6 separate regions of the Homo sapiens genome follow, and regions 1, 2, 3, 5 and 6 are each linked to region 4. Evidence: promoter capture Hi-C in 16 types of primary human blood cells and fetal thymus (Javierre and others, 2016). All regions are on one chromosome and are shown on one strand. Each heading gives the region's core, a stretch centred on a gene start or on the middle of the fragment in contact. The rest is flanking DNA. Distances are from core to core; before and after follow the strand shown.

Evidence for each region. Contacts are between HindIII fragments. The CHiCAGO score rates a contact against its expected background, and 5 or more counts as called.
Region 1: a contact is called between the fragment with the promoter of ZNF641 here and the fragment with the promoter of RPAP3 in region 4, in 7 of 17 cell types (fetal thymus, non-activated CD4 T cells, activated CD4 T cells and 4 more). The highest score is 13.9, in fetal thymus.
Region 2: a fragment that was not itself captured here is called in contact with the fragment with the promoter of RPAP3 in region 4 in 1 of 17 cell types (naive CD4 T cells); the score reaches 6.1 in naive CD4 T cells.
Region 3: a fragment that was not itself captured here is called in contact with the fragment with the promoter of RPAP3 in region 4 in 5 of 17 cell types (erythroblasts, M0 macrophages, naive CD4 T cells and 2 more); the score reaches 7.1 in erythroblasts.
Region 5: the fragment with the promoter of KANSL2 here is called in contact with the fragment with the promoter of RPAP3 in region 4 in 1 of 17 cell types (fetal thymus); the score reaches 5.5 in fetal thymus.
Region 6: a contact is called between a fragment that was not itself captured here and the fragment with the promoter of RPAP3 in region 4, in 1 of 17 cell types (activated CD4 T cells). The highest score is 5.4, in activated CD4 T cells.

What each region holds. Positions count from the first base shown.
Region 1 is chr12:48,348,257-48,352,179 of GRCh38, reverse strand. ZNF641 (zinc finger protein 641) reads left to right here and starts at 1,261. Exons shown (of 6, transcript NM_001172681.2): 1 at 1,261-1,394. RefSeq lists silencers at 751-830, 1,111-1,540 and enhancers at 506-1,242, 1,681-1,750. The HindIII fragment of the contact is 6,093 bases long and covers 1-3,895 here.
Region 2 is chr12:47,040,706-47,044,349 of GRCh38, reverse strand. No RefSeq gene overlaps it. Among named protein-coding and RNA genes, the nearest start is that of PCED1B, 37 kb to the left of the region's middle. The HindIII fragment of the contact is 960 bases long and covers 1,826-2,785 here.
Region 3 is chr12:47,080,357-47,084,340 of GRCh38, reverse strand. All of the region lies in intron 1 of PCED1B (PC-esterase domain containing 1B), which reads right to left. Among named protein-coding and RNA genes, the nearest start is that of AMIGO2, 2.4 kb to the right of the region's middle. The HindIII fragment of the contact is 733 bases long and covers 1,966-2,698 here.
Region 4 is chr12:47,704,727-47,708,321 of GRCh38, reverse strand. RPAP3 (RNA polymerase II associated protein 3) reads left to right here and starts at 2,292. Exons shown (of 17, transcript NM_024604.3): 1 at 2,292-2,370. It overlaps RPAP3-DT (RPAP3 divergent transcript), which reads right to left and starts at 2,234. Exons shown (of 4, transcript NR_183480.1): 1 at 2,159-2,234. RefSeq lists enhancers at 1,981-2,130, 2,062-2,356, 2,077-2,576, 2,577-3,078 and silencers at 2,271-2,350, 2,421-2,710, 2,741-2,830. The HindIII fragment of the contact is 881 bases long and covers 2,111-2,991 here.
Region 5 is chr12:48,679,977-48,683,944 of GRCh38, reverse strand. KANSL2 (KAT8 regulatory NSL complex subunit 2) reads left to right here and starts at 1,707. Exons shown (of 10, transcript NM_017822.4): 1 at 1,707-1,758; 2 at 2,304-2,563. The coding sequence starts at 2,313. RefSeq lists silencers at 1,360-1,409, 1,450-1,659 and an enhancer at 1,740-2,009. The HindIII fragment of the contact is 8,142 bases long and covers 1-3,968 here.
Region 6 is chr12:47,018,239-47,022,086 of GRCh38, reverse strand. No RefSeq gene overlaps it. Among named protein-coding and RNA genes, the nearest start is that of PCED1B, 59 kb to the left of the region's middle. The HindIII fragment of the contact is 563 bases long and covers 2,120-2,682 here.

The DNA of each region.
Region 1 (3,923 bases), core at 12-2,511, 640 kb before region 4:
GCTCTATACTCTTCCCAACTGCGTGTCTACTGCATTTTCCTCTTTCATTAGACAGCCCTCCTGACTCTTCTCTGCCTCACGATTTCTGTCAGAGTGGGGGGCCTTCTCTGACCTCCGTCCCATACGTGGTCACTTCTCTTTGCTTCAAGTGCAGCGTACGTTCCTCTGTTTTAGAATCTACGTTTTTATTGCAAATATTTGTTGACATGTGCTTCCCCAGACTGTGAATCCTTTAACTCCCAGCATTTAGTTACAGTGTCTGGCACACGTAGAAAATAAATATGCATTAAACGAATGATTGTCACATATGACCTTAAGTGAGTCAATTATTTTTTAAGTCTACTAAATAAAATTTTTGAAAATTGTTGTAATGATGAAATAAGGAATGTGAATGTGACTTGTAGGTTATAAACAGATTCTAACAGCAATGGGTTTACTCACTGTTTGTAGGCCCTTCTCATCTTTTCTAGTCAAATCCATCTTAATGCTGCAAGGTAGCACTATCCAATAGAAATATAATGCAAGCCATATTTATAGCCACATTTAAAAAGTTAAAACCAGGTGAAATTAATTTTAATATATTTAACCCAATATACCCAAAATATCACTTTTTAAATTAAATCTTCTAAATCTTGGAACACATCTCTATTCAGACCAGCCACATTTCGAGAGCTCAGGTGTCACCTGCGGCTACGGCTCCCGCAAATGGGACAGCAGCCGCAAGGCCAACTTCAGATAGCAACCTGACTTCCCCTCAGGCAGAATAAGTGACTCCTCCTCAGTGCTCTCTCAAGCCCTTTATCCTATCGTGAAAACTAGAGGGTACGCTCCTTGAGGAATTCCAGACTGTTGTCTGGAGAAATCGCTCTCGGCCTCGGTCTGGCCTGTAACGGGCGGTTACGCAATTCCAGGTAATTGACGAACCCTGAGGACAGAACTCCGTGGGAGGCCCAGTAGCCAGAGCGGAAAATGGTCAGTCAGGCAAGAGTGCGGGCAAGTGGCCACAGCAGGCTGCGATTCCGGCGCCCGCCGCCCTCCAAGCGTCTCGGGCCGCACCCTCCCCACAGCGGCGGGCGCGGAGGTCCCGGGTTCGCGTTTGGGGGCGCCTGAGCCGCAGCCCCGCCCCCTCCCGTCCCTCCCTCCCTCCCTCCCTCCCACTCCTCTCCCTCCCACTCCTCTCCCTCCCACTCCCCGCACCTCCGCCGCCGCAGAGCCCCGGAAGCGGGCGGGGATTTCCTGTGCCCGCCCCGCCCCGCCCGCGCCTGCCGGGCCGCCGTCTCCGCCTGTCGCTGGCTCCGCCGGCCGCCGGCTCCCAGACGCAAGCGGAGGGCGGAGGGGAGGGGCAGGCGGCGCCCGGGAGGGAGGCACCGGGCCGCGGGCCAAGCCTACCGGGGGTGAGTGGAGCCGGGCCGGAGGGAGCTGCGGCTGGAGGGAGGGACGCCTGGCTTCCCGGGGCGGCTGGTGGGGGCTCGGTCACCCATAGGGGCTGGGAGGAGGATCGGCGCGTCTTCCGGGTTGCTGCCTTTCCCGGGGGTCTGCCCCGCTGACATTCTGTGCCCGCCTCTCGCCCTGTCTCCCCGTGCCCATCGCAACTGTCAGGCCCTGCGGGCTCCCGCCGCTGTCACTCGCGCACAGGTTACCCCGTGGCTCCCTTTCTCTTCACTTGCTCATGCCCCAGCTCATGGGAAACCTGTTTTCTGACCTCACTTCCCCTGCTCCAGTTCTGCCTTGCTCGGATTCTCTGAAATCTGACCCTTTCCAGGGGCACTGTGACAAGAAGAAGGGAAGAAGCAACCTTACCCCTGAGCAGGCTCCCGTCCCGCCCATGCCCTACCCGTGGCAGGGGCCAGGGTTCTCTGATGGACGGAGCCAACTCGTCCGTGTGCCCTTGGGCTACTCATTTTTATAACATGGCCCCTTTTCTGTTCATCAGCACTGGCTGCAGAAACTTCCTTTTGCAGGTCCCTTGCTACCCATATGTGTGAAGAAAAGGGGGAAATGAAAGCCCTAGAACCCACACTGCAGTGGGCATGGGATCATCCTGGAACCAGGAGAAACGAGGTTAGGGCTACCACCTTAACCGCCCAGGTGCTGGCTCTGCGTGAATATCTTAGGAAATGCAAGCTGAGGACAGGTACCCATCCCATCCTTTGCTGAGATTTTTGCTAGCACTTCCACGGATTTCTGTCAGTGGTATAGAAAAACTTACAGCTGGCCCAATGGGCTCTGCACAAAGAGGCTTCCCATTAAGAGACTCTGCTACCTGGGGGAGATGGAGAAAGGGTTTGAGACAAGTGTCCAGATATGTAGCTAGAGGTAAAGCCTTCAGGGAGGATTTGCACAGGAGCTAGAGAACCAGAAAGATGGGACGAAGAGGGAGAATTAGTGCCCTGTGTGTTAAAAGTGGATACAGAGCTGGAATTCAGAGAAGAGAGCTAAAATGGAAGTTTCCCTTTATTGCTTTAGCAAGAATTTTCCTTTCTCATGAAAAGTCTCTGAAAAGGAAACCTCCTAGGCTGGGAATCAGTCCAGGGTGCTCCCATGAGGCCCTGAGCCATCTTTGGACTTCTGAGATAAAAAGGGAATTTGTTTTTCCTGTGCATTGGGCTTAGGGTTCCCACCTACCTCTTTTGTCAAAGACAAATAGGCAAGAAAATAGACGACTTGACATCTGTGATTACCTACCCTGGCCTTCAAGGTTCTTGCAAGTGTTATTGAAAGGATGTAAGTAAGCCAGGATAGTTACCAAGTTTCTGACTGCTCTTGGAAGCCTTTCACTGACTCTGACTGTTTGGATATTGAATAAGAATACCCAAAATATGTTGCCAAACAGAAAGAGATTCTGAGTCTCAGATTATTTCTCTGCCATAAAGCCCTATCACAACAGAAGTGTGACCCATCCTGCTCTTAAGTTGTCTAAAGAAAAAGAAGAGCCCACTATCTGGTATTGTACACTGCAGGATTATTAAGAATTAAAAAAAAATAACCTAAATCTCTTCTCTTGCAATCAAGACCCATTTTTTTCTGTTTGACCTATATAGAGATAGAAGGGACCTCTGTTTTTATTCATTAGTAGCATCATTCATCAGCCTTCTTCTCCAGACAGAGAAAACTACATCCGACATTTTTAACTTTCCCAGTGGCTGTATTTCCAATCCCTTTCTTGACTTTGATGTTTTCTGATGAACACACACTGGCTTCACCATACGCTTCTTTCAAACTGAATATATTTTTCTAATGAGATCTGACTGGTGCCTGACAAATAAACAGGTTTGTTCTTCTGGGTCATGTTAGCAGCAGTTCTTCCCCCCTTTTCCAGCTCTGGTTCAAACTCTTTCTGTTCCTTTTTACTTTTCCTGATTAAACTTCAGCTCCTCACAGACCAACAATTTCTCTTACCTCTTAGGATTACTTTGGAGTCTTAACACCTGCTTTCCAAGTTATCAGTTTTTCTACCATATTTACTACCAGTTTTCATTGGATGGTAGACCAAGTGCCTTTTTATTGAGGCTTGTCCCAAGTGAGGTACCTTTTGGCCCAGCCTCATGATACAAATACGCCCCTTGGTTGGGACTTTTACCTATAGTAATCATTTCATTCTAAACTGATGAGACTGTGATTTGTGGCAGAAAATCTTCTGTGTGATTACATCCATCTTGTTGAGTGCAGGTCTATATGTATTTCTTCCTGTATGTTTCCAAATTGCTTACTTTCCTGTACTTCATGTGCTTGAAATTAAATGGATAGCCTTTGAATTTCCAGGACAGTTCTTTTTTTTTAAATGAACTTCTTCTAACCTTCAGGTATATTCTGTTTCTATAATGAGGTCCACAAAATACCAGTTAGTGGCTTTGCTACGTAGCACCTGCCAATTTCTTAGTTCCTCCAAGAAGCTTGGTGCAGGCTCCGTTGATCGGAACACA
Region 2 (3,644 bases), core at 1,056-3,555, 660 kb after region 4:
TATTCATGAACATAGATATAAAAATCCTAAACAAAATCTTATAAAGCCAAATTATATAATGTATAAAAAAGTAAATATTTTATTATCAAGTTGAATTCATTTCAGGAATACAAAGTTGATTTAATATTAGAAAGTTAAATTATGTTATTCACCCCACACATAGTAAAGAATTCAACTTTGTCCGAAAAGAAGTCTGGTCTTTGTCCTTGGCTTCTGAGAGGTGATGGGTAAATTGATGGAATATCATGGTTGATAGGAGTGTCTTTGTTTGGCTGTGAGCCTTGGGTCACCAGATTGTCTAAAAATATGATTTAAGATGGAGAATGGCTACACCAGAAAGACCAGAAATGTGATTTAGCGTGGGGGATTTGGGTCATGTCTGGAGAGGGTGGAGGCTGAAGATTGAAATCAGCCACATTGGCAATCGCCCATGTCTACATCATGGAGCCTCAATAAAAAGTCTGAACACCTGGCTCTGCTGAGCTTTCCTCATTAGCAATATTTTGTGCACATTGTTATACTTTGATATTTGAAAAGTAATGTGTCCAGGACTCCATGGAGAAAGAAAAACAGAAGCTACATGTTTGATACTTTTCCTGGACTCTGCTCTAGGTGCCCCTCCTTGACTGACTTTAATCTGTATCCTTCCTGTAATACACTCTAACCTGGATTATAACAACTTTTAGTGAGTTCCAGGAGTCCTTGTGGATTAGGTAACCTGAAGGTGGTTTTAGGAAGCCCCTAAACTTGCAATTGCTGTCAAAAGTGAGGACAGTCTTGCGTGGACTATGCCACCTCAAACTGTGCAGTTGGCTAACCAACTCATGCCCCATTAACATATTTCTTTTTTTTTTTTTTTTTTTCAGATGGAGTCCCACTCTGTCTCCCAGACTAGAGTGCAGTGGCACGATCTGGGCTCACAGCAAACTCTGCCTCCTGGGTTCAAGTGATTCACCTGTCTCAGCCTCCCAAGTAGCTGGGATTACAGGCACCTGCCACTGCGCCCAGCTAATTTTTGTATTTTTAGTAGAGATTGAGTTTCACCATGTTGGCCAGGCTGGTCTTGAATTCCTGACCTTGTGATCCACTCACCTCAGCCTCCCAAAGTGCTGGGGTTACAGGCGTGAGCCACCGCACCCCGCTGCACCATTAACATATTAAAGAATGAAAGCTATATAATGAGCTAAGTAGACACATTGTATTAGATAAAATTTAATATCCGTTTATGGTTTAGAAAATCTTAAGCAAACTAATAATGGAAGAAAAATTTCTTAAACGTGTAAATATTATCAAAAAACTACAGCAATATTATACTTAATGGTGAAAAATTTTAAGTTTAATATAAAATAGGTAAAGATGTTTATTATTACTACATTTGTTTAACACTCTACTAAATGGCCTAGATGGTATAGTAATGTGAATAAAAAAGTAAAATAAAAGGAATTAGGAGTTAGAATGAAACAAAACAAACTGGTCATTATTTATGGGTAGTATAATTGTCTACAAAATAAAAAGGAAATTGCATTTTTATACACCAGCAATGATCAGCTAAAAATGTTATTAAAAAGATTATACTATGTAAAACATTCTTACCTCTACGTTTGTTTGCATTTGTCAAAATTCAACAAATTGTGCACTTGTATTTGTCTATTTTACTGTATGTATATTTACCTCAAAAATGAACTGTAAACAAATATTTAAAAAGTAAAAAACTTTAAAAATATTTATACTATTTTAAATTACAATAAAAATAAATATTTTATCCAAGAGAAAAAAAATCTAGTGGGAGATGTGTAAGCCCATATCTGGTAAAAATTATAAAGCTTTATTAAACGACATTAAATAAAACCTAAACAAATGAAGAGATATACCATATTCATGGATAGTCAGATTTAATATTGTATTGACATTAATTTTCATGAATTGATTAACACTCCTAGAATCCCAACATCACAAGTTGATTTTAAAATTTATATAGACTAGCAAAGGACCAAAAATAACCAAGACAGTTCTAAAGAACAAGATGGGAACTTGTATGATCAAATATCAAACTTTATTATAAAGCTATAGTAATTAAGACATTGTATATGGCACAAGGAAAGGTAAATGGAACATCATAGAGAGCTCAGTACTAGACCTACACACACATATATATAGACCATAGTCAATGTTAAGGAGAAAAAAAATCCAAGGAAGAAGGGGGAAGGAAGGGAAAATAGTTGAAAGAAAAATATTTGGCTCAGTATATATACATTTAATCACAGTCAAAATGATTTTTCTTAATATTTATGAAATAGAGGGGCATAACATATGGATAAATCACAGTTCAGTTTTCGTACTGCAGGGTCTCTTTTCTTTCTTTTTTTCTTTCTTTCTTTCTTTCTTTCTTTCTTTTCTTTCTTTCTTTCTTTCTTTCTTTCTTTCTTTCTTTCTTTCTTTCTCTTTCTTTCTTTCTTTCTCTTTCTCTCTCTCTCTCTCTCTCTTTCTTTCTTGACAGGGTCTTGCTCTGTTGCTCAGGCTGGAGTGCAGTGGCACAATCTTGGCTCACTGCAACTTCCACCTCCCAGGTTCAAGTGATTCTCCCACCTCAGCCTCCTGAATAGCTATGATTATAGGCGCACACCATCATGCCTGGCTAATTTTTGTATTTTTTGTAGAGATGGGGTTTCACCATGTTGGCCAGGCTGGTCTTGAACTCCGGACCTCAGGTGATTTGCCCACCTCTGCCTCTCAAAGTACTAGAATTACAGGTGTGAGCCACTGCGCTCAGCTGATTTTCCAAGCTTAAGATTCGTGTATGAATGCAAAGTCATATATCCATGAAGCCAGAGCTGCCAAGGAATATTCTGCGGGTTTCTTTGTAGTTCAAGGTCCTAGTAATGAACAACTATGAGTCATATTGTATTGTTATGAACTTTGTGAATGTGAACTAATATGAAAAAAGTGCTGTCCAGTTTTTTCACAACTATATACACAACTATATACAATATTCTCTGGAATTGAGACAATTAATTCTTTATATTTTCATCTTTTTTGTTAGATCAAATGCACCATTGTAACTCAATATTCAGAAAGTTTCTACTCAAAAACAGTTTCAGGGCATAGTCTACTTCTATGCATTTAGGGGAGTACTTTAAATTTTCTTTCATTACGCTAATAAATTTTCTGTTGTTCGTCATTCTCCTATGGCATTCATTTTCAGAATGGAAAGATTAACAGAATATTTCTCCAAGGCAATACTGACTTTATTTTAGGTTGCTTTATTTTATAGTGTCAAATAAAATAAATAAATCAGTGTAAAAAGTTATATATATATAATGATATATTAATATGAATAATTGATAATGTGTAAGAATTGATTTCCAGAATTGAGTCTGGTTGGGCCACACTCAAAATTGGTCCTTTTACATCTTTTTAAAAATCTTATCCACTTTATGGAAGATATCTTGGAATATATAAATGAATAGAAGTTTCTACAACATTATTTGGAATCTTCCAAAGAATGACTGGTTTCATTCTTATTTAATATTTTAATAAGCATAAGTCAACCACTTCAATAGGTCCTACAAAGTTATAGTTGGAGTTGTACTAGTTATAGATGTGTGGTTGTTAGTCATATTAGATAGTGCTTCTTGGGCCACTTG
Region 3 (3,984 bases), core at 1,083-3,582, 620 kb after region 4:
ATTCAGTAGAAACCATACTTCAAGTACCCATACAATCATTCTGTTTTTCACTTTCAGTATAGTATTCAATGAATTCCATGAGCAATTCAACACTTTTTTAAATATAATATAGACTTTGTGTTAGACGATTTTGCTCAACTGTAGGCTAGTGTAAGTGTTCTGTGCACATTTAAGGCAGGCTAGGCTAAACTATGATGTTCAGTAGATTTGGTGTAATAAATGCACTTTTAACTTATTTATTGAGTTTTTTTTGGAATGTAATCCCATTGTAAATTGAGGAGCATCTGTATTCTGTAATTAAGATAGTGGTGATGGTTGCACAGTATTGTGAATATATTAAACAATCACTGAACTGCGCACTTTAAAATTGTTACAATGGTGAATTTTATGTCATGTGGATTTTATCTCAAGTGAATTAAAAAACAAAAAACTGTCCGGCCTATGTCAATGAAGATAAGAGACAGACCAACCAGATGAGTGAGTGGAGACTGCTTAAAGAGTAGCCCCATTGTGAGCTCTTCCTGGGGAGGACATGCAGTACCTCCTGCAGAATACTGAATACTCCCATTCTATCCCCCCATTTCCAGCCAAGTAAAGGGAGCGTCCAGAGAAACATGCCATAAGCTGACCCATGCCTCCTGGAGTTCAGAAAGCACAGGAGCTGGAGTCTGAGTTTTCCCAGAAAATGTATCTCCATATAATGAAAGACACAGGATGGGGTGAGAGATCTGGTTCTATAAAAAATCTTAGGCAATTTACAAAAACCAACTGGAGCAGGCCAAGAGAAGAACAGGATGCTGTAGGAGCTGAGTGCACTTCCATAGTTGTTGGGCAAAGGTATGTTTTTCTTGTGGGTTCAAGCTAAGTTACACTGTAAAAATCCTATTAAGAGTGCTGCCCGCCAGAGTGATGAAACTCCACAGGAAGCTCCTGCATGCAGCAATCAGTGACCCCAGTGAGCTCCATCTCCAAAGAACACCCAGTGTGCCTCACGCCGAAAAAAGAGGCAACAAGATATCTGCCAGTGTATAAATTCCACCTGACTACAGGACGCGTGGTAGAGTCAAAGGAGATAAAGAATGTGAAAGCCCTTCTTAGGACATAAAGTGCTATTGAAGTGTTAATTATTAGTAAAAATGACTTAGAATCATCAAACATGTGCTATTAATTTCTTGTCTCATATCTCTAATTACTTAAATCTTTGATTACAACCTGAGAAATTGTGGAAATTACAGGGCTAGAACTCCTGTGATTTCATCACCTCAAATTACTGCCTCAGGCAGATAGTATTTCCAAACCCAGCTAGACACTCACATGACCACACCCCCTTCTCAGCATACTAGATTCAGAATTATGTCAAGTGTCAAGCCACATTCTACTATCCCTTGGAGTCATTACTGAATGGTCAAAAATTCCAATGTATTATGTCATGTGGAAGAGGCCAGAGGAATATCTATCGCATCCTATTTTAAACTCCTGAGAAGGCAACTCAACCATCTGTCTTGGCAACCCATTCCAGGTTGGAACCACCCTGGCAGAAACGTCTCTCTTCTGTTTAATCTAAATCCTTCAAATAGAACCTTGAGATAATTGCATCCCATTTCATTTTCAAATAATTTGGAACACAGTTGTTTACCATCTGGGTTATAGGATTATATAATGTCACAGGGCTGTGGTGAGCAATAAATGAAATAATGCATGTAAAACGCATAGCTCAGTGTCTGGCATATAATAAAGGCTCAGTACATATTTATTATCACCATCATTACATGTGTTAGTACTCTGTCCGTCACAAGTGACATGCAACTCAAAATAATTTAAGCTAAAAAAGGGGGTGGGGTGGAAAATATAATTAAAAAGGAAGTAAAAGTATGCAGTGGCCTTCAGGTACTACCAGATCCAGGACTCAAATAACATTTACAGGACTCCTCTTTCTCTTTCTTCTCCTTTTTTTTAAGACAAGCTTTCAAAGCATAAAAGGCAGGACAGCAACCAGCAGATTCAGTTGGGGTAAACCGTTATCTTAACCACTTTGAATAGGTTCCCTGTTCATCAGTTCATTTATCAAAAATTTATTGAATGTGTTAAGCAGGGTTCTGAGAGCTGAGAATACAGCAATACACAAAACAGATAAAACTGCTATCCTCTTGGAATTTACCTTCTAGTGGAAAGAGGGAATCTGTTAGAAGGAGAAGGGATGCTAGAAAGATAAAAATGTTATCCTCCACAAAATAAGGTCACGTCTTATACCTTAAGATCAACTCTTATCTTTCTTTCCTCCCAGCTAGTAAACTCAATCCTTTTACAACGTTCTTCCCTTTCACAAACATGTGAAATCCCCCAAATCAGGTCTTCAAATGGATAAATAGCCTTGTCTATGGATTTTGAGTGCATTTAGTTTACTTTTGCTGTGTAATCTCTGCATAATGTTTCTACAATATGCCTGTAGTTATAATAATATAACCTTCCTGTTTCCATTTTTTTGAATCACTTATTCTTTTTAGACTATTTTTGCATTAAATACAGGTCTTTCTTCTGCCTTCATGGTTTCCTTAAAATACGATGTTAATTAGTAAAATCCTGCAAAAACCTGGTCATTTATTAGTCATTTAAAAAATATTCCTCTGAGCGATTTTAATTCTATTCCTCTGTATTAACTATTCTAACTCTATAAAATTGAAGTCCTGGAGACCAAGCTTTTGAGAATCCCAGGAAGTGTGGCCTAATACTAGAAAATCTCAACTTCTGCCTCTCCCCTTTAAGTACACAGTAAGAAATGCTTGCATGAAGCATTTTAGGCTGTGTTCTTATGATAAAATTCAACTTTCATGAAATAAATTAATCTGAATCAAGTTGTCCTCATCTGAAAATGCCTAGATTTATTAGTGCTAGCCCGGCTTTATTCCACAAACAATTCTATTTAAATTAGGTGTTGGTCTAACAAATCTGCCTGACCACAGCAATGACTCACGGACCATGTAGGAAACAACTTTCACTAAATTCAAGATTGCTCAAGTGAAAAGGTGCGCGGGGGAGGGGAGGAAGAGTTGGTTGTCCTCATCATTTTTATTTTTAAGTAATATTACAAGTTATCTATCCTGCCCCAACTGTTTCCTCAATTTGGTTGCTTTTCATTCCACTGTGGTTGGCATCTTTTGTCAAGGCAGTAATTTATTTCTTTTAATCCGGATATAATGGCCAAATGGGCGATCTGACTCACTCAAATCCCATCGTTAAAACTTATCTTGGAATTAAACAAAAATGGATTTTTAATCGTAGAGCTCATCAGCCTCATAGTCTCCACCTCATTTCTGAATGGCCTTGTTCGGCTTGCACCTTCTGTGCTTGCTGAACCAAAGCGCGCTGGTCGGCCGCGGCATCTCCGGAAGGGATGAAGAGCCTCCGCGCACACGCCCCTTACTTCCCTGTCCCGCACGCGCCACGAGCACGCTTGCAAAAGACGGGGAGGTGGCGGGGACAGAGACAGAGGAAATGAGAGAGAGAGAACGAAAGAGAAAGGAGAGAGAGGGAGAGAGAGAGGGAGAGAGAAGAGGGGAAGGAGAAGAGAGAAAAAAGAAAAAAAGGTCTGCTCTGGGATTATTATTATTATTTGGGTTAATACTCTTATCTTTGCATTCCAGCCGGAAGGTCGGCTCCAAGCCTTCTTTCCTGCCCTCCTCCTTCTTGAATTGGACACCATCCCTGTTGCCGCCTCCTGAGTCAGGAAAGGGATAGAACTTTCCCAGGGAGGTGAGGGGTGTCCCCGTGGCGATTTCCCGGTTACTTCCTCCCAGCAGATATCCCTGTGGAGAGGAAACGTTCCCGACTTCCCTCCCCGCGACCTCCTCCCTAGAAACGAGCGGAGACGTCAGGCTGCTTCTGGGTTTATTTTGTAAACCCAGACAGTCAACTGCACTTGGCGCAGGCAAAGCCTCCTTGGCCCTTGCCCCAAAGCAAAGCTCTAAGAGGTCCGGGGATTCCTTG
Region 4 (3,595 bases), core at 1,043-3,542:
AAGTATTCTTAATGGGCAGGGGGTACCGTTATTCCCACTCTTGCCCTTTTCTGCCGACTGGATTTCAGACAAGATCGTGGGAGCTTGAGCAGCCAGCTTGAACCATGAATGAAAGCCATATGCTGAAGATCACAGAGCAGCCAGGAAGGAGCCTGGGTCTCACACCGAAACTGTCACACTAATCCTGGATTGCTTATATTCAGTTTTACATGAAAGAAAAATAATCTTTCATGTTTAAGCCACTCTTATTTTGGGCTTTCTGTCACATGCAACCAAACTTAACATAGTATCTCCATAACAGGAAGTCCCAAGGTTCATTTTCTTCCTAAAGTTACTTAGCTAATACTTCCTTTCTTAAGATTTACATTAACTGTCAGACTCTTTAACTATTTGAAAGAGCCCAATAATTGTTTTGGATATTAAAATTAATAGCATTTACAATCATTAATTGCAGCATTTTATTGTTGCAATAATAAACACTCCTGTTTATTTCCACTGACCATTACAACTGCAACACATAAAACACATAAAGAGGTTTGTCTCTTTGAAAATAACTCTTCAGGTATTAATGATAAGTTCAATTGAGATGACTGGAGTAAATGAATAAAAGAGACTTAAAAGAAAGGCATTATTTACACATTTTGTTGAAATCCATTTAAAGATAACTGCCAATAGAAGTGGGGAGGTCTGCAAGGAATCTAGGAAAGAACTTAAGGTGGCCTAGGTCTGAGCTCACAGGAGAGAAGGCTGCCATTGCAGGCACAGGTTTTGTGGGACAGCAGGAGCCTCAGAATTAGGTGATGATGACCATCAAAACCATTTGATTAACTTTTCTCACTTTGACTCTATATTCACTAAGCTACTTCTGATTATTGTATGGTTTGAGAGAGAAAAAGAGAGAGAAAAGCAGGGTCACCTAAGGGTCTATGAGGTTTTACTAGAGCAGCCAGCTAGCCCCCTTATCTCTCTTCTCAATCAACTCTGTCAGAATTAATAAAACAAATGTGGTTGCTTTTGTTAAAAACACCAGTAAATCAATATTTGCTTTTAAATACTTAATAAAAAAATTATTAAAAGTCAGTTCTCTATCTCCCTAATACAACCAAAGAATCATTTCATTAGTAAATATTTTGACGTACACTTAATGATTTGACTACTATGATTTTAAAATATAAAGATACCAATAATTAAGCAATGGGAAGGATGTGCTAATGATATGACCTTGTAAGACAGCACTCCAGCCTAGTTCTTCATTGATCAGCGCCTGGGTTAGTGGCTTCCAGCTTCAAATGCACAGCCGTATCCTATGCTTTAAAAAATTCTGATTGGCTTCACTCAAGACTAGTTACATCAGAATCTCTGGGATAGGACACAGAAATCAGTATACACACACACACACACACACACACACACACACACACACACACAGACACAAACACACACACACACACACGTGTATATGTATATACTCCCTAAGTGATTCCAAAGCTCAGTCAAGACTGAGAACCACCGATCTGGATTTTGAGGATATTTGAGGTTACAGTCCTGTTTTAAATGGAAAGTTTCATTTGTTTGTGTTTGCTTCTGTGGACTTCTGCAATTATTTTTGTTTTGCTTTCGTTTAAGAGTTGTCATTGCAACGAAGACTCCCTCACACGGGAAGCAGAAGCAAAAAGTGTTAAAAGTTTCGTTCTTTTTTCTCTGTAAGCCAGAGCATATCTAAAGACAGATTGTAACACTGGCACATGTCAAAGAAAGACTCAGAGATAGATTCACTTAGAAAAGGGGTTTACTTGCAAAAGATGCGAGGAGTTAGACGGAAGGACTAGTTTGCCAACCAGTACTTAAAGGGAAAAAAAAATCCCCTAAAATTACCAGGATTACCGGTTGACAGTAGTCTGTTCATGGTGGAAAAACAGTAACTTTCTCACATGGTTATTATACTCACAAAGGTCAGACAAATTAATGTCACAAAGGTCAGAGATTAGCAAGGTAAATATTAGGGATTAAACTGTTTAAGGGAGTCCAGGGAAATATTCAAGGTTTTATTGTTTTGGAGATCAGAAAATCAGGATGATCCTGCAGTTTTTGGGTTATCTCCTTTTAAGCTTAGTCATATTGGAAGCAGGCAGAAGGCTCAGATATTGCTTTTACATACCCTCAAGCCACCAAGCTGGTTCCATCCTGAGAAGGAAGTCACGAAGCTGACTTCTGCGCGCGCTCAAGCCCAGGCTAAAGGGGGCGGGGCGAGGCCGCGGGGGCTTGTGGGGAAGCGCAGGAGGCGGGGCTTTGCGTGAGTCACTGCCGGGCTCGGCGTGAGTCGCTGCGGGGCTGACGGGGTGGCAGTGCGGCGGGTTACGGCCTGGTCAGGTGAGCGGGCGTTGCGGTTCTCGCTGCCCGGAGCAGCGTAGGAGATCCTTGGGGTGGCCGGTGGGAGGAGGGGTAGCGGTTATGGGTACCGGTGAGGCGGGGCGGGCCGGGGCTGGCGGTGGAGGCGCGCGTTGAGGCGGCGCGTCGGTGTCCAGGGCAGCGGCGTCTCGGGTCGCGCGTTCCCGGAGGGGCTCGCCCCCGCAACCCGGGCCTGCGCGCTCTGCTTTGCAGGCGGACCCTCCACCCTGCTGCGATTTTGCAGTGCTCGGGAAGGCAGAGCCGCCCTCCCGCAAAGACCGAGGTGGGGCCCGCCCCCTTGCGGCGTGGGTGTGCGGTGTTCGCCGGGACAGCGGGTGTGAAAGTGATACCCCCAGCGCTGGAAGTTTTTGATTGCTGGCTCGCACCCCCGCCCCATCGCAGGGTCCCTGGGAGAGTTTTTGGGCCTGCTCGAGCAGCAGCGGTGATGGGTGAAATGGAAAAGCATCTAACCCCCGTCAGCATCTCACTGACTTGTTGCGCTTTTATTCATTTATTTGAGTTCCCAACAAAGCGTTGTACTAGTTTTGTTTTTGAATGAGTTGTGCATATATGGTCAAACATGGACACTGCCTGAAAGAAGCTTAAACCTAATTTAGTTGTTGAGGCTACGAGTCAGAAGACCTATCTGCATCTGCAACTGTCCCTTCTTAGTGAGGTATTTTTCACTGTCCTAAACAAATGTTTTTCTAATTCCGTCTCTCTCCCTCCCACCTTACTTCTCTTCCCTCCGCCTAAAGCTTTGACTCTTCTCCTACCTTTTTGGAGATTTTGCCCCATCACTCATCCTTTTTCCTGTATCTTTTACTTTGTTGCTTTTTCCCCAGACTATGCTCAAGAACAAGTCTTATATTATCAAAGGCAAATGTACTGTAATCTCCATATAATCTCATTTACGTAACTCATTTCATTCCCCCCCCTCCTTTTTTTTTGGTCCCAGGCTGGAGTGTAGTGGGCCCGTCACCGCCCACTGTGGCCTCGATCTCCCGATCCTCCCACCTCAGCCTCCTGAGTAGCTGGAACTATAGGCACCCTCCACCACGCCTGGCTAATTTTTGTGTTTTTAGTAGAGATGGGGATCTCGAAGTGTTGCCCAGGCTGATCTAGGAACTCCTGAGCCCAAGCTATTCCCCCTGCCCCCCAACCTCTGCCTCCCAAAGTGCCGGGATTACAGGCATGAGCCACCTGC
Region 5 (3,968 bases), core at 458-2,957, 980 kb before region 4:
AAAGCTATCCTAGAATGTTCACTCCAAGAGAGCAGGGTTATCTTCCTTGTTCTCTCCTGGCACTTAGGTGCTCAATAAATATTCGTTGAATGAATGAATTTCAGGCCTTCTTCTAGGGCTGCTCTAGTCTCTGGAAACAGCACAACCCCCAAGGTTTTTTTTTTTTTTTAATAATTTATCGGTCCTATAGTGTATTTATTTATTTATTTATTTATTTATTTATTTATTTATTTGAGATGAGGTGTCTCCATATTGCCCAGGCTGGGATCGAACTCCTGAGCTCAGGTGATCTTCCCACCTCAGCTTTTCAAAGTGCTGGGATTACAGTGGTGAACCATGACGCCCAGCCTTAGTGTTTTTCTTGAGGGCTGTGGAATCTTTATGTTCACTTCCACTGGGACTCATGCTCACTTGCTCGTTAGGCATGGATAAAACATCTTTCTTAAACTGACAGTGAGGAGATAAGAGATGCTGGAAAGCAAAAAATGTCTAGAAGGGTTATGGGAAGAAAGCTAGGAATCATTTCTACAAGTGGTGGAGATGACAGAAAGATGCTTTTAAACTAAAAATCCTTAAAGGATGGTATGATTGGTATTGTGTCTGTCATTTTTATGATACCTGCATTATTTAGCATGGAATTTTAAAGACAGGGCACACAGTTATGAGAAGCAGCCCTAAACTAGAACAAATATTTCCTTATTCTCAGTCCAATGCTCTTTACTATATAAGAGGCAATAAGGGATAAAGAATGCGGGCTGGGTTCAAATTCGTCTTCCTTTCCCATTTAATAGCTATGGTCCCATTCTGTTCCTCAGTCCTCTTATCTGTAAAATGGACATAATACTAACCTGTACCTCTTAGGGTTGCTTTGAAAAATTCAATGACTTTATACATGTAATTCCCAGAATCAGTAAACACCCAAAAAATGTTTCTCAGTGTTCTCTATACCAAATGTTCAGTACATGTATTGAACTGTTCACAAAAGAAAGCTAAAGACTTTTTATGTGTAAACAGTGATCCTCCAGCCTCTGTCTGATTTATTTTTTATTTATATATTTTTTTGAGACGGAGTTTCGCTCTTGTTGCCCAGGCTGGAGTGCAATGGCGCGATATCGGCTCACCGCAATCTCCGCCTCCCAGGTTCAAGAGATTCTCCTGTCTCAGCCTCCCGAGTAGCTGGAATTACAGGCGTGCACCACCACGCCCGGCTAATTTTGTATTTTTAGTAGAGACGGCGTTTCTCCATGTTGCTCAGGCTGGACTCGAGCTCCCGACCTCAGGTGATCTGCCAGCCTCAGCCTCCCAAAGTGTTGGGATTACAGGCGTGAGCCACCGCGCCCGGCCTGTCTGTCTGATTTTATACTAGCTGTGTACAGTGGTGAGGGAACAGCAGCCTAGGACCACAGACTGAGGGTCCAAAAGTAGCCGGAAAACGAGCCACGCTGCAAGGTGGAAAAATATTAGCTGGCAACCCGCCCCGCAGCCCGCTCTCCGCCCCCTTCCCCGGCTCACTCTCCTCCGGGCGGAGTTGCTGACAGACAGTCTGTCTTAGCCACCCCAACCTCGCATTTTCTCAGCGCTCCGCCCTCCCAGACACGATAGGTAGTTGGTCTCGGCCAATGGCGACATCCTGTCATACGAGCGGTAGCCAATGAGTAGCCAGGAGTCCGGAAAGGGGCGAGGCCGATCTGAGAGCCGCTGGCGCCACTAGAGAAGGGCGAGCGGCGCGGCAGAGTGCGGCGCAGCGCAGCTCCTGAGGTAAGATGGCGGTGCTCTTTCCTCTAAGCTCTTGCGGTTGGGCTGCTATTTCGCTCTTTTTGTCAGCTCAGAGCTGCTACTCCGCCTCAAAGCAGTGTCAGAGTCAGTCTCCTTCCTGCAGGCTTCCAGGAGCCAGGATCTCCGGTGACTGGAGCCGTAGGACAAAATGGCGCTCGCATAGGCTTCCGAGGCCAGGCCCAGTCGTGCGCTCTGAGGCAGGCCGGGACAAAGGCGGCGTGCGGGGAGGCGGCGTGGCCGCCGCGTGGGGCTGGTGTTGTCGCTTCCCTTCGTGCTGCAGCTGTGCGAGTCCTGAAGATACATTCAGCGTGGTGTGGTTCGGGGTGGGGCCGGGCATGGAGGGACACGCTAAAGGGAGGCAAAGCCACAGATGCCTGTGGAGACTTGGGGAGGGCGGCGGGGACTTACGGAGCGTACCTTACGGGGACGACTTCTGCATGTCCTTTGGAAACTGTCCGCGCGATCTGTGTGGAGCAGGAATTTTCGGGAAGGGTAAGGGCTTTTTGGTCTTTCGTTTGACCCCGCAGGTTTTGGTTATGAACAGGATTCGGATTCACGTCTTGCCAACCAATCGGGGGAGGATCACTCCAGTGCCCAGGTCTCAGGAACCTCTGTCTTGTGCATTCACTCATCGTCCATGCTCTCACCCTCGTCTGGAGGGGCAGGAGTTTTGCATTAAGCATATCCTTGAAGACAAGAATGCACCCTTCAAGCAGTGTAGTTATATATCGACGAAGAATGGAAAAAGATGTCCCAATGCTGCCCCAAAGCCAGAGAAGAAAGATGGGTATATATGTATAGATATATATGTCGTTTTTCTTAAAGCGAGGGGGTATGTGATATGATGCGGGCTTCAGCATAGCTGCCGCGTTTGAGATTTTGTCCTTGTAAATTTGGGGTTATGGTTGTATCCTTGGAAAACTGAAAAAACGGTGAAGACTGGAAAGACCCTTGAGTTGGATTACTTAGTTCACCTCTTTGGTTCTTTTCCCTTATCTGTAAAATAAAGGCATATTCTAAATTAGTCTTTTTTTTTTTTTTTTTTTTTTTAAGAGAGATGGGGTCTTGCTATTTTGACCAGGCCGGTCTCAAACTCCTGGCCTCAAGGTATCCTCCCATCTCGGCCTCCCAGAGTGCTGGGATTACAGGCGTGAGCGACCGCGCCCGGCCCTAAAGTTAATTTTTTGGCGGGGGGGCGGCGCACAGATTCTTGCTTTATTCCCCAGGCTGGAGTGCAGTGGAGATCTCGGCTCACTGCAACCTCCTCCTTCCAGGTTCAAGCGATTCTCCTGCCTCCTAAGTAGTTGGGACTTAAGGCGTGCGCCACTATGCCCGGCTAATTTTTGTACTTTTTAGTAGAGACGGGGTTTCACCATGTTGGCCAGGCTTGTTTTGAACTGCTGACCTCAGGTGATCCATCCGCCTCGGCCTCCCAGAGTGTTGGGATTACAGGAGTGAGCCACCGCACCTGGCCCCTAAAATTCTTCTTAATGGAGGGGTGTGTGGCTCTATTTGGCTGTCCATGAATTTTGTTAAATAACATGCAAAGTTATATATGTGTGTATTCTTCTGTAAGAGGCTTCATAGTTTTCATCATGTATGCAAAGGTATCCATGCAAAAACATAACCTGACTAGATAATTTTTTACGTATCTTATAGTTTTAAAATTGTGTCCCTGGCTGGTCGCAGTGGCTCATGCCTGTAATCCCAGCACTTTGGGAGGCCACGGGAGGAGGATCACTTGAGGCCAGGAGTTGGAGACCAACCCAGGCAATACAGTGAGACCCCGTCTCTACAGAAGATTAAAAAACTCGCTGGGCATAGTGGCGTGGACATGTAGTCCCCACTACTTGGGAGGCTGAGGTGGGAGGATCACTTGAGCCTGGGAGTTCCAGACCAGACTTGGCAACATAGACTTCGTTTCTACAAAAAACTAAAAAAAATTTGCTGGGCACAGTGGTGCATGCCTATAGTTCTAGCTACTTTGAGGCTGAGGCAGGAGGATCGCTTGAACCAAGCAGTTTAAGGCTACAGTGAACTATGATTGCACCACTGCACTTTAGCCTGGGCAACAGAGCAAGACCCAATCCCTTGCCTCAGCCTCCCAAAGTGCTGGGATTACAAGGGTGAACCACTTCATCCGTCCTGTTATTTCCCTTTAATAAAGTCAAATGAGTTGACCTTGGGCCAGT
Region 6 (3,848 bases), core at 1,152-3,651, 690 kb after region 4:
TTATAAAACAAGGCATTTGAAGGCAATTCTATAACTAAAAGATAAAATCATTATCATTATCTCTCAATCTTTAATATTGGAATAAAGCAATATATAAGATCATGCGATTATGGTTATAATACTACAAAGAATCAACTAAAATGGTGGATATGCTGCCACTCACACTATGCATGATAGGTTTGATCCTTTATAAATACAAAACCACTTTTAGTTTTAAATCCAAGCAACCAGAAAGCTCAAACATACATTTTTGTATACTACACAATGAGAATTAGTATTCAAAGCCTAGACCTATAAGATCCTAAAGTACCATCTGAATAACAAGAGTAAAATTAAATCTAATTTAAATTTAGGGTCAAATGCATTTTATTGTATTCTGGTTCTTGGTATATGGTTAATGCACATATGGTTTGTGCATCATGATACAGCGAGCTAACAAATATATTTAATTGTTCTTGTAATAGCTTCATTTCTTAATTATATTGGCTAAGTAAGAACTTACAAACGATCCTCTACACATCATCAGATGACTCAACATTTGGCCATTGGCTTTATACAACTGTGTCATCCCTGCATTGTATCAAAGAAGGAATCTCACTGGACTTTCCATATGTCACTTAAAGCCTCTTCTACCTCAACAAAGAATGGAAAATATCACAACATCAGCCACTAGATGGCACACTAATAGCAGTGATATTCTAGCATCAGGCTGACAACATTTTTGACATCTATGGAAAGCTAGAACAATAGATTATATGGGTATACATTCTATTACTGAGTGAATATCAGCATAAAAAACTTTACTGTAAATGTGTATTTCTATATAGCAAGTTTTTTTTCCATTGACTTCCGTTATAAAATCAAAGGTGTGTTTCTCTGGGTAATGAAAGATGATGTGGGAGTTGAAGAAAGTTATCACATAGGGAAAGCAACAAGTCTCTTCTATTAACATATTTAAAGGAAAATTCTATTTCAACATTTTAATAAAGGTCTTGAAATGTCAAGAGTTGAATGTTGTGTAGTTAAGATTAATTTCATGTTTTGCACAACATCATGCAAGTCTAGAGAAATAAATGACATTTTAACTGCCCCAAATACCTGGGCTGAAAAATCACCCAGAGGTAATTCCCTTGAGTTTCTCTGAAATGAATCCTAACCCTCACAGAATGCTGATGGGTTTTAGAAATAAATAGTCTGGGCCAAAAGAAAGGAGGAGAACCAGACACAGCAGAGACAGCAATTAAAGGAGAACAGCAAAGGAACAAACACAGCAGCAGATTCTGCAAGCCCATAGAAGCAATTGAAGGAAGGAGAAAGCACATTGATTGAAAAGGGTACTTGGAAGGGGTAAGAGAATGCTGTGAAAAGAGTTCTTAGTGATGCAATGATTCGTTTTTAAAGTTATGAATTTCCACATAAGGAAGATATGCCTGAATAAAAACCAGATTCATTTCGTAATGAAACAAAAATTACTTTGTGGCTACAGTGTCTGTTTTAAACATCATTATTTATCAAATAACTCTTCTTCAAGGTCGGATTCACAGCTGTCTCTCAAATAGAAAACATTCATAATGATAGAGTCATGAGTCTCCTGTTATCTGGCTGTCTTTCCTTACCTAACCGTTCTCATCTGCCACGAAGCTCCAATTCATATTCTAGCCAGGCAAGCCTGCCCACTGCTCTCTGTCTTTGCTTCATCTCCTATACCCTTGTGCTTTGCTGTGGTAAAGATAGCTAATGTCCTTTCCATAGTGTAGCGTTGTTGCTGAGAAGCTCTGCCCAGCCAGGGCCCTCATTTTCCAGTCCTACCCTCCCTTGCATCCAGGTGGGACTAGTTCTTGCCGGTGGAATATGAGCTGAGATGATGTGTACCATGTCTTGGCCAAGTGGTTAAGAAGTGGTGGCACATACCCTGTGCTTTCTCTTTTCCCATCTGCCCACTGGATGTTGACACACAGGATGATCATGGAAGCCACATGTGGAAGGTGATGGAGACTTCCAGCCTACGGCTCTGCGTGAAGCTATGAAGCAGTCTTCCTTCATCCACACAGCCGACCTTCCACTCCTGCCACCAAGCAGGAACATCTGTTTTGGATTTTATGTGAGTGAGAAATAAGCTTCTATTGTGCTACATTATTATTATTATTATTATTATTATTATTATTATTATTATTATTATTTTACTGTAAATAGCCTTACTTTAATTTATTTGCAAAAGCTATTTTCCTACTTGGAATGCCTTTTTAATTATAGGAGAGACACAGACATTTCATTGAGTGCTATTATGAGGTAGGGACATCATAATGGTAACATCTTCACAGTGATTTATACATGGTATCGTTGTCTTATCCTTCCAATCCCAAGAGCTAGTTATTATTATCTTAGTGGTACAGCCTTGATGTATTCTAGTGGGTAATTCTGTTTTAAGTGTAGTTAGTTTCTGAATTTGAACATTTTACATTAGAAGGTCCAGCTGAAGACTTAATTCACTATCAGGAATGGGGTTGAGTATGCCAAAAATTGATAGGGAAAATATGGGAGATAGCCATATGGCAGTCTAAAATATTTAAGTCTGATAGTAGCATAGACACAGGCTTTGGGTTACATAAGGAGATCATAGAGAAAGATTAAATTGATAAACAGGGTAGGCTCCAGATCAAGAGTCATATTGAATGTCAAGCTTAGAAAGTTGAACTTTAGTTCATAAGCTGGGTGTGTGCATGCATGCATGCACATGTGTGCGTGTGTGTGTGATTAAATCTTTTGTGCAGTTAAGTGACATGAACCATTGCTTTAAGATCTGCTTGACAACAATATTATATATAACCAATTTACAAATTAACTTTTAGAAAATGTTTTCCATTATTATTATTAGGTTGGTGCAAAGATAATTGTGGTTTTCGCCATTAGAAGTAATGTACCAAACTAATATTATATTATTGTTGTGATGGAACTGTCTTATGTGCTGTAGGAGTTTTAGCAGCATCCTTGGTCTCTACCAACTGGATGACAGTAGCAACTCCCAATCTTCTCAAATCACGACAACTCAAAATATCTCCAGGCATTGCCAAGTATCCCATAGAGAACAAATCACCCCTGGTTGAGATCCAGTGTTCTAGAGAGACAAACAGTTCACAGAGTGAGACTTGTCTTTGTTTTTATTTGAAGACACACCACTGCCTGATCGTCTTAAATCAGGACAAGAGAAGCCCCTGTCCGTAGATGCTATCCTAACTTCCCCGTCTCCCATTTCTGCCCCCTCCTTTTGTCAGAAGACCCGGGTGCAGGTGGCTACACTTCTCTCCATAATGCAAGGAGTCTTGGGACCACAGAGATGTGGCCACCTACATCCTGTGGCCTCCTTTCTACCATATTCTAAGTATCCATGGCCAGGGAATTTTTTGTCCAGATAGTCTCATTTTCCAAGAGATGGTGCTTGGAGGAGGTAATGGTGGTGGTGGTGTGGCTTGAGTTTGGACATGCCGGCTGAGATATCCTTGTATCTATGCTCACAGTACTGGGCAGAGCCGGTATGGAGGAAAAGTCAGGTGATGGTAGGTTCTTAAAATTCCTGGGTGGATCTTCAAGAAGTCTGAGAATTCTAAATTTGAGTCTGGCCTTCTAGCCTTGGGTTCTTTTGAGAAACTTAGAAGACCAACACCGATGATGGTGGTGTGTAGGAGCACCTTGTGAACAGAGGTGGTCATGCTCAGCTGGACTGGGTGGGGTGCAGAGAAACCTGAGCCAGGTGGGACTTGGGCTTCTGTTTGCCTCTTGCTTCAGTCATAATTTGTGTTGCATAATCCCATGATGGGATAACTTTGTGGGAGGAAGAGCTTAAGCCTCTG